2 separate regions of the Homo sapiens genome follow, and region 2 is linked to region 1. The links are contacts of gene promoters, found by promoter capture Hi-C in blood cells and fetal thymus (Javierre and others, 2016). All regions are on one chromosome and are shown on one strand. Each heading gives the region's core, a stretch centred on a gene start or on the middle of the fragment in contact. The rest is flanking DNA. Distances are from core to core; before and after follow the strand shown.

Evidence for each region. Contacts are between HindIII fragments. The CHiCAGO score rates a contact against its expected background, and 5 or more counts as called.
Region 2: a fragment that was not itself captured here is called in contact with the fragment with the promoter of ANKDD1A in region 1 in 1 of 17 cell types (naive CD4 T cells); the score reaches 5.5 in naive CD4 T cells.

The regions. Positions count from the first base shown.
Region 1 is chr15:64,909,600-64,913,652 of GRCh38, forward strand. It overlaps ANKDD1A (ankyrin repeat and death domain containing 1A), which reads left to right and starts at 2,303. Exons shown (of 15, transcript NM_182703.6): 1 at 2,303-2,365. The coding sequence starts at 2,332. RefSeq lists silencers at 1,531-1,825, 1,899-1,948, 2,149-2,328 and an enhancer at 2,515-3,058. The HindIII fragment of the contact is 10,512 bases long and covers 521-4,053 here.
Region 2 is chr15:64,676,524-64,680,576 of GRCh38, forward strand. It overlaps ZNF609 (zinc finger protein 609), which reads left to right. Exons shown (of 10, transcript NM_015042.2): 6 at 1,593-1,959; 7 at 3,662-3,837. Among named protein-coding and RNA genes, the nearest start is that of OAZ2, 25 kb to the right of the region's middle. The HindIII fragment of the contact is 1,836 bases long and covers 1,213-3,048 here.

The sequences.
Region 1 (4,053 bases), core at 1,053-3,552:
GATAGTAATTTGCCTTACACAGTTGCGGAAGGACCAGAAGGGGAGTTGGGGATCAGAGGAGTCCTTAGTCAGTCATCTGAGAAACCAAGTATGTCCAGCTGCTAAAATGGAACCACAAGGGAAAGCTCCTGGGGAGGTCTATGGGTGGTACTAATGCCCTGGGTCTGCAGCCAAGTCCGCGATGGCCTGGGGCCACTGTTGGTCAGCAGGCTCAGCAGCTGGGAAGAAAAGCTGGATGTGGAGTGAAGGAGAGTGACAGCAGGCTGGAAGCCAGTGGTGCCCTCTTCATCCATCACCACAGCTGACTATGACAACCTTCAGAGACTTAACTTTGAAACATGTAAATACTTTACATAATTGTAAAGCAAAATTAACATTTAAAAATATCAAAAAACAAAAGCAAAACAAAATAAATAAACCATGCATGTTGAGTTGGTGGCATAACCACATAAAGAACTATTCCAAGTGACTAAAACAGTAACGTGACACTATGCCCCTAGTGGGATGTACATGTGACAAAAGCTTTACAAAAAACATTTAAACTGTTTTCAGGAATAATATCTTTGGCTAGGCGTGGTGGCCAAGCACTTTGGGAGACCTAGGTGGGTAGATCACCTGAGGTCAGGAGTTCGAGGCCAGCCTGGCCAACATGGTGAAACCCCCGTCTCTACTAAAAATACAAAAATCAGCCGCGTGTGGTGGCACACACCTGTAGTCCCAGCTACTTGGGAGGTTTAGGCATGAGAATCGCTTGAACCTGGGAGGCAGAGGTTGCAGTGAGCTGAGATTACGCTACTGCACTCCAGCTTGGGCAACACAGTGAGACTCTGTCTTAAAAAAAAAACAAAAACAAAAAGGGGGGGGTGCGGCGCAGTGGCTCACACCTGTAATCCCAACACTTTGGGAGGCCAAGGTAGGTGGATCACCTGAGGTCAGGAGTTCAACACCAGCCTGACCAACATAGTGAAACCCCATCTCTACTAAAAATACAAAATTATCCAGGTGTGGGGGCGAGTGCCTGTAATCCTAGCTACATGGGAGGCTGAGGCAGGAGAACTGCTTGAACCCAGGAGGCAGAGGTTGCAGTGAGCCGAGATCATACCACTGTACTCCAGCCTGGGCGAAAGAGTGAGACTCTGTCTCAGAAAAAAAAAAATCATATCTTTGATTATTATGTTGGAATTGTTATTTTGAGACCATTTTGAGGGGTTGGCTCAGGGCTCATTAATTGTTAGCTGTTATCATTATGTTATTTTTCAAAGGCCATTCCAAATACCTCCTTCTTCAGGAAGCCTTCTTGAACTATATTCTAAGGACTAATGACTGAAAGATGCTCTTCCTCCTTTGATCCCCAAAGTAGTAGTAACTACACCTATCATGGCTTTGCTGGCTTCTTGCCTTGGGATAGAGATGCCTGAGACCCCATTATCCCTAAATTCAAAGAAGCTGTAAATGCCTTTAAGGCAAAAAGGACATGGACATCCCCCAAGGGTCTGAAGTGCAACCCATTCTGGTGTATTTAATGTGTATCTTTTTGTTTCTATGTGTCTTTGCAAGTCTGTGTTGTTTGATGTAAATGCATTTGTAATATTTTTATTGATATTGTTTCCTAGGTCTTATTTGGTTTGGTTATTTACTTTTTCTGCCTAGCACTAGGTGTTTAAATCCATATTGCCACGAATACAGCGGGTCCCTTGCTTTGAGTGCTGCACAGTTTATCCATCTGCTCTTACAAGAAAGGGCGCTTAGATTGTCTCCAACTCCCAGCAACCACAGCAACACAGCAACCAACATCCTCCTACATGTCCCTTTATGGGCCTGATAAATCTTTCTGAACACTGATAAATCCGACCATCTCTTCATATGCTTGCAGACCTGCTGAGGTTGTGGTCCCTTAAACGCCAGCTCACATCTTTGGGGTTTGACTTTCTGCGCCTGAGGCGGCGGGCCCAAGGCTCAGCCCTCCTCCCCGAGTCCCGAGAGGCGCGAGGAGGATGAGCCTGCCAGATGCCTTGTGCGCATCTATCTCCAGGGCCGGGGAGGCTGGGCGAACTCCCGGGGAGGAGACTGGGTCAGGGACACCTGCGGAACTCGGCGTGGCCCCGACCCGCCGGCCTCGGGCGCGGAGGGGTGGGCAGGTTAAGAGAGCAGGAGGAGGGACCTGCGTCCTGGTCCGGGACTGGGGTGGCCGGGGCAGCTGCGCTCCTAGCAGGCGGGGCGTGGAGTCTGGAGGAGCGACCGCCCCGTCCTCTCGGCTCCCCGGGCCCCGCCCCGGCGGACGCGCGCCTCGCGCCCGGGCACCAGCGCGCGCAGGGGCTGCGGAGCGGCAGGATGCAGGAGGAGCTGGCGTGGGAGACCGACGGCCGTGAGTCTGCCTGGAGGAGGGAGGGGGGCGGGCCGAGGCCGAGAGGACCCCCGCATCCGTTTGGGGAGTGCCAGGGGTGAGGTTGGCGCCCTCCGAACGGCCACCTCCGTGTGGGGCGTCTGTGTGGCTCCGAGCGGAATGGTTACCGGTCCGCGCACTGGGCCGAGGGGACCTTGCCAGTGCGTCTGGGACTCGGGGACCACACCCGCCAGGTGAGCGGGGAGCAGCGGCTGAGAGGTTAGCTACAAATAATAAAGGTAATAGCGATCCTTGACTGCGTGCTGTACTTTGTGTGCCAGGCCTTGACCCAGGAGAGGCACGTCATTTGATCTTCGCTGCGGCCATATGGGTAGGACATTATGTTATCTTCATTTCGCAGATGAGAAACTGAGGCACAGGGTGTTCAAATGAGTTGTTCAAGGTCACACAGCCATTGAGTGGTAGAAGTGCTGAAGGGCCCAGCTCACCCGGAATGCTGGGGCTGGATAGCGAGTGGAGACCGCATCAGATGGGGCACGCACTCAGAGGAGAGGAGCCTGACTGGCCACAGGTGGAATGAGGGCACCTCCGAACCTCCCTCAAGGAGTGCGCCCAGTGCCAGGGCCTCTAGGCCGGGCAGCAGCGTCTGTGTGGGCATCAGCTGGCCTGGGGCAGCTTTGGCTGCACCGTCTGGGAGAGGGGAGAGAAAGATTGTGTCGGTGTCTGCACTGTGAGTCCTTGATCCTGCAGCCCTGGCTGAATCCTGACAGCTGAATCCCGGGGCTTTCCCTCAAAAGCGCATAGTGCAGCTCACTGGATTCCTTTGAGACCTATAGTGTCCAAAATGCTGGCACACTGCATCTACTCAGCTGAGGGATGTGTTGGGGGTGGGAATGCTCAATCAAGATTAGGTACATGGTTCTGCCTGGGGCGGAGGATCACTTGAGTGGGCCTGCGAAGAATGTGTACCAATGGAGCATTGGGGTGTGTGGCAGAGAATTCTGGACAAAGACCCAGCATGGGCAAAGGCTCAGGTAGCTCAGTGGGTATTGGATGTGGCCAGAAAGAGGGTGCCGGATGGGAGGTGGATGGAAGAGATGAGACTGGACTTGATTTCATTCTAACTTAACCTTCTCTGGCCTGACCCTATGCAGTGTCTGCTGGCTTCCCATTGGAACTCCTGGCTGTTTGCCAATACAAACCAGGCCAATCCCCCTAAGCTGCACATAAGATAGAGGGTGCCAGACAGGAAGGGACCTATACAGATCTCTTTCTTCACCCTCCCCCAGTTTTACAATGGAAGAAACAGACCTACAAGGGGGATGTGACTAGCCCAGGATCCTGCTGCTGGAAAGTGGCAGGGAAGGTACTAGAACCCAGGCCTCTGTAAGCTCACATCTGAAGTGGCAGCTCTCTTTGGCTACCAGAATTTGACCCTTTGCCTTGGAGGAATAATAGTGATGATGATGGTGGTGGTGGTGGCGGTGTGGTCATTATGTGCCAGACACTGTGCCAGGGGGTTTTCATATCTCATTTCTAATCATGATATTAACCTTGTAGGGAAGCTCGCACTCCTGTTTTGCAGATGAGGAAACTGCCTAACACAGCTAGGAAGTGGTTAAGCCAGAGTTGAACCCAGGACTGTGTGATTGCCCCCCAGGGTAGCAACTCTGAGATCCACAGGTTGTATCCATGAGGCCCCAGAAAGC
Region 2 (4,053 bases), core at 881-3,380, 230 kb before region 1:
AGGTTCAAGCAATTCTCCTGCCTCAGCCTCCCGAGTAGCTGAGATTACAGGCACACGCCACCATGCCCAGCTAATTTTTTTTGTATTTTTAGTAGAGATGGGGCTTCACCATCTTGGTCAGGCTGGTCTGGAACTCCTGACCTCAAGTAATCCACCTGCCTCAGCCTCCCAGAGTGCTGGGATTACAGGCATGAGCCACTGCACCCAGCCAATTTTTATTTTATTTTATTTATTTATTTATTTATTTTGAGATGGAGTCTGGCACTGTCACCCAGGCTGGAATGCACTGGCGCAATCTCAGCTCACTGCAACCTCTGCCTCCCAGGTTCACACGATTCTCCTGCCTCAGCCTCCCGAGTAGCTGGGATTACAGGTGCACGCCACCACACCTGGCTAATTTTTTGTATTTTTAGTAGAGACGGGGTTTCACCATGTTAGCCAGGATGGTCTTGATCTCCTGACCTTGTGATCCACCCACCTCGGCCTCCCAAAGTACCTGGATTAAGGCGTGAGCCACTGCGCCCAGTCGTAATTTTTTTTATTTTTATGTTTTTATAGAGACCAGAGTCCCTCTGTGTTGCCCAGGCTGGAATGCAATGATGCAGTCATAGCTCACTGCAATTTCCAACTCCTAGGCTCAAGCAGTCCTCCTGCCTCAGCCTCCCAATTAACCAGGACTACAGATGCATGCCACCACACCCAGATGATGTTTTAATTTTTTGTAGAGAGGGGTCTCACTATGTTGCCCAGGCTGGTCTTGAACTCCTGGCCTCAAGCAATCCTCGCGCCTCAGCCTCCCAAAGCACAGGGATTCATATTAATGTTTTTTAAAAAGCACTTTTATATCCATAGCAGGTGTTTTTTCCATTTGACAGGAAAGGCCCAGACAAGTTAGCTTAATTTGTCTGGGGTTACTTGAGACCTCACTAGCAGAGCCAGGATTAGAACCCAGGTATCTCGATTCCTTGTCCGTGTTTCCTCCACTGTTTGGTTCCTATGAAATGAGTTATTGATGGTCTCTCTATTTTTTAGAGTAGGTCCAAAGTATACTCAGTTACTGAGTTTCTTTAACAAGGATTTTATAGGTTGAGTTAGAACTAGGAACTTGGAATCTCATATCTTGCTCTGCTCATGAGACTTAGAATGTCTTCCCTTCCCTCTTGGTATAATAGTTATGCTTCCCTCCCTCCTCTGATCTGAGTGTCACTTATAAGCTTTCCAGTCCCTGAGCGTGCTCTGAAAAAGTGAAACAATCTAAACATATTGGAAGGGGCAGCCTCTCCTATTTCAGTCGTTTTCCCAGAATGCTTGTTCTTACCTAGAAAACATCCACTGATGCATGGATGGATTTTCCTTTTCTCCCCCTGCCCCATCTTGTTCCCTGTGGGTGGGTGCAGAGGTGGGGGCGGGGGCTTTTTAACCAAAAGGGAGCAGAGTTGGATTATAAACAAGATCAGTAGAGGCCAAAATCCTACTCTGCCCCAGGTGTCTAGTACTAATTATCTGCTCTGGTGGTTCTACTGGGACCTTGGGCTTGAAGTATATCTGTCTTATCTGTACAACACCCAGTCGTTGTTCTGTGATTGTTGTAGGAGGCAGAGCCCCGGATGTGGACATATGTTTATCCTGCCAAGTACTCAGACATCAAGTCAGAGGATGAGCGGTGGAAGGAGGAGCGGGACCGCAAATTGAAGGAGGAAAGGAGTCGGAGTAAGGACTCTGTCCCCAAGGAAGATGGGAAGGAAAGCACAAGTAGTGACTGCAAGCTGCCCACGTCAGAGGAGTCTCGCCTTGGGAGCAAGGAGCCCCGGCCAAGTGTCCATGTGCCTGTGTCCTCCCCACTTACCCAGCACCAGTCCTACATCCCCTACATGCACGGCTATTCCTACAGTCAGTCCTACGACCCCAACCACCCCAGCTACCGGAGCATGCCTGCTGTGATGATGCAGAACTACCCAGGTACAGCACCAAGTGCCAGCACTATTCCATTCACTGGAAGGGGGAATGAAGCACAGATTTCACATCCAGAGTTTTCTTGCTCAGCCCCAAGGCATATTGAGGCTCGCTTAGATGACGGACCTTTTTTCACTGAGTCATTCTGTGAGGTGGCCACCATAACCCATAGTTCCTTGAATGACCCATAATGATAGTCTGTGTGACTACCTCTCTCTCCCTTGCTCCAGCTCAAGGATTGTCTCTGTAGTCAGTTTTCATTGCTAACTAAAGGTAAAACTCCTTCTCTGTCACTGCTGTCTCCCCTCAGCTGGAATTTGTAAACCATATACTCCACGTTTTGCAGTGTGCTAGGCACTGTGGGAGGTACAAAAGAAGTAGAGCCATTGAGTTCCTTCCACTCCCGGAGCTTACAGCTTAATCATAGTGGAGAGACACAAAGAACAAATAAAATGCAAACCATAACAATGCATGGATTCAGTTGCCAGATCATGTTCACCTGTCAAGTAAGAAGAGCCATCTGAAGTCAGACTGGGGGGAGGTCCTGCTAGATTCAGCTTGGAAAAGACAAGCTCTTTATAGTGTTTAAATGTTTTTTGTTTGTTTGTTTTTTGAGACGGAATTTCACTCTTGTTGCACAGGCTAGAGTGCAGTGGCGTGATCTCGGCTCACCACAGCCTCCACCTCCTGGGTTCAAACGATTCTCCTGCCTCAGCTTCCCAAGTAGCTAGGATTACAGGCATGTGCCACCACTCCTGGCTAATTTTGTATTTTTAGTAGAGACGGTGTTCTTCCGTGTTGGTCAGGCTGGTCTTGAACTCCCGACCTCAGGTGATCCGGCTGCCTTGGCCTCCCAAAGTGCTGAGATACAGGCATGAGCCACCGCTCCGGCCTTAAATGTTTTTTAACTTGTTAGAAGAAAATGCTCTTATTTAACTCTACTCGTTTTGTTGCCCAAAGAACCATGTGGGGTGCTTCTGGGGTGGAAGGGCACTGCTTTAGCCTCACTCCTTAGAGCCTCCAGCTTCCTACAGCAGCCTAAATAGTCTCAACATTCTGGTGACATTATTATAAAGCACACTCTAAATAGAAATAAGCTTTTCAAACAGAAATAGGAAATTTCTTACCCTTGAGGTGTTCCTTTATCCCTGTCACTCACACCCATCAATATAAAAATCATAGTTGCATTTGTTGAGTGCTCGCCCTGAGCCAGGCGCTGTCCTCTGAGATTTATAGACATTATCTTTTTTAATCCTCCCTATCACCTTAAGTAATAAGTATTGATATCTTCATTTTTGATGATGAAGAAACTGAAGCTCAAAACAGTTATTTATTTGCTCAAGGTTACCAAGCTAGTAAGTCTCAGAGTAAGGTTTTGAGCCCAAGGCTCTGACTCCAGATAAGTGTGATCTTTCCACTTTATCATATCACTTCTCCAAGATGAATCTGAGACCAGTTCAAAGAACAGTATCAGATCTATGGAAGTTGGAAGCAGGAAACAGGGCCATGTTCCTAATATCCCTTAGCTAATTTTTCCTGTAGAGCTCAGTAAAGAAAGGTCAAGCCAACAGTCTCAGCCAAAGACACTATGTTAGAAAATACCTCAGCCTGTGCCTAGGAAAGCTGATGCCCACCCAATCAAGCTCACTAAAGCAGAGTTTCCTCTACCTCTCCCATCTCTTTGACTGTTTGATTTCTCCTTCCACAGGTTCCTACCTGCCTTCCAGCTACTCTTTTTCCCCATATGGCAGCAAGGTCTCAGGTGGTGAAGATGCTGACAAGGCACGAGCCAGCCCCAGTGTGACTTGTAAATCCAGCTCAGAGTCCAAAGCCCTGGACATCTTGCAGCAGCATGCCAGTCACTACAAGAGCAAGTCTCCCACGGTAAGAAAAGTACAGTGATGCTGGCTGTTACCCAAAGACTAGTAAGGCCAGATCCAGGGTCTGGGAGAAGGTGGGCAAGTTCAGGTCCTGACCACAGTGCAGCTTGGCTGACTTGACACTGGCAGCCCCCAGGGCATCTTCTTTATTCTTAGGTATCTTGCACTTTTAGGGGTCATAAGGTGGCACCCTGGGCATCTCACTTGTGTGTGTGTGTGT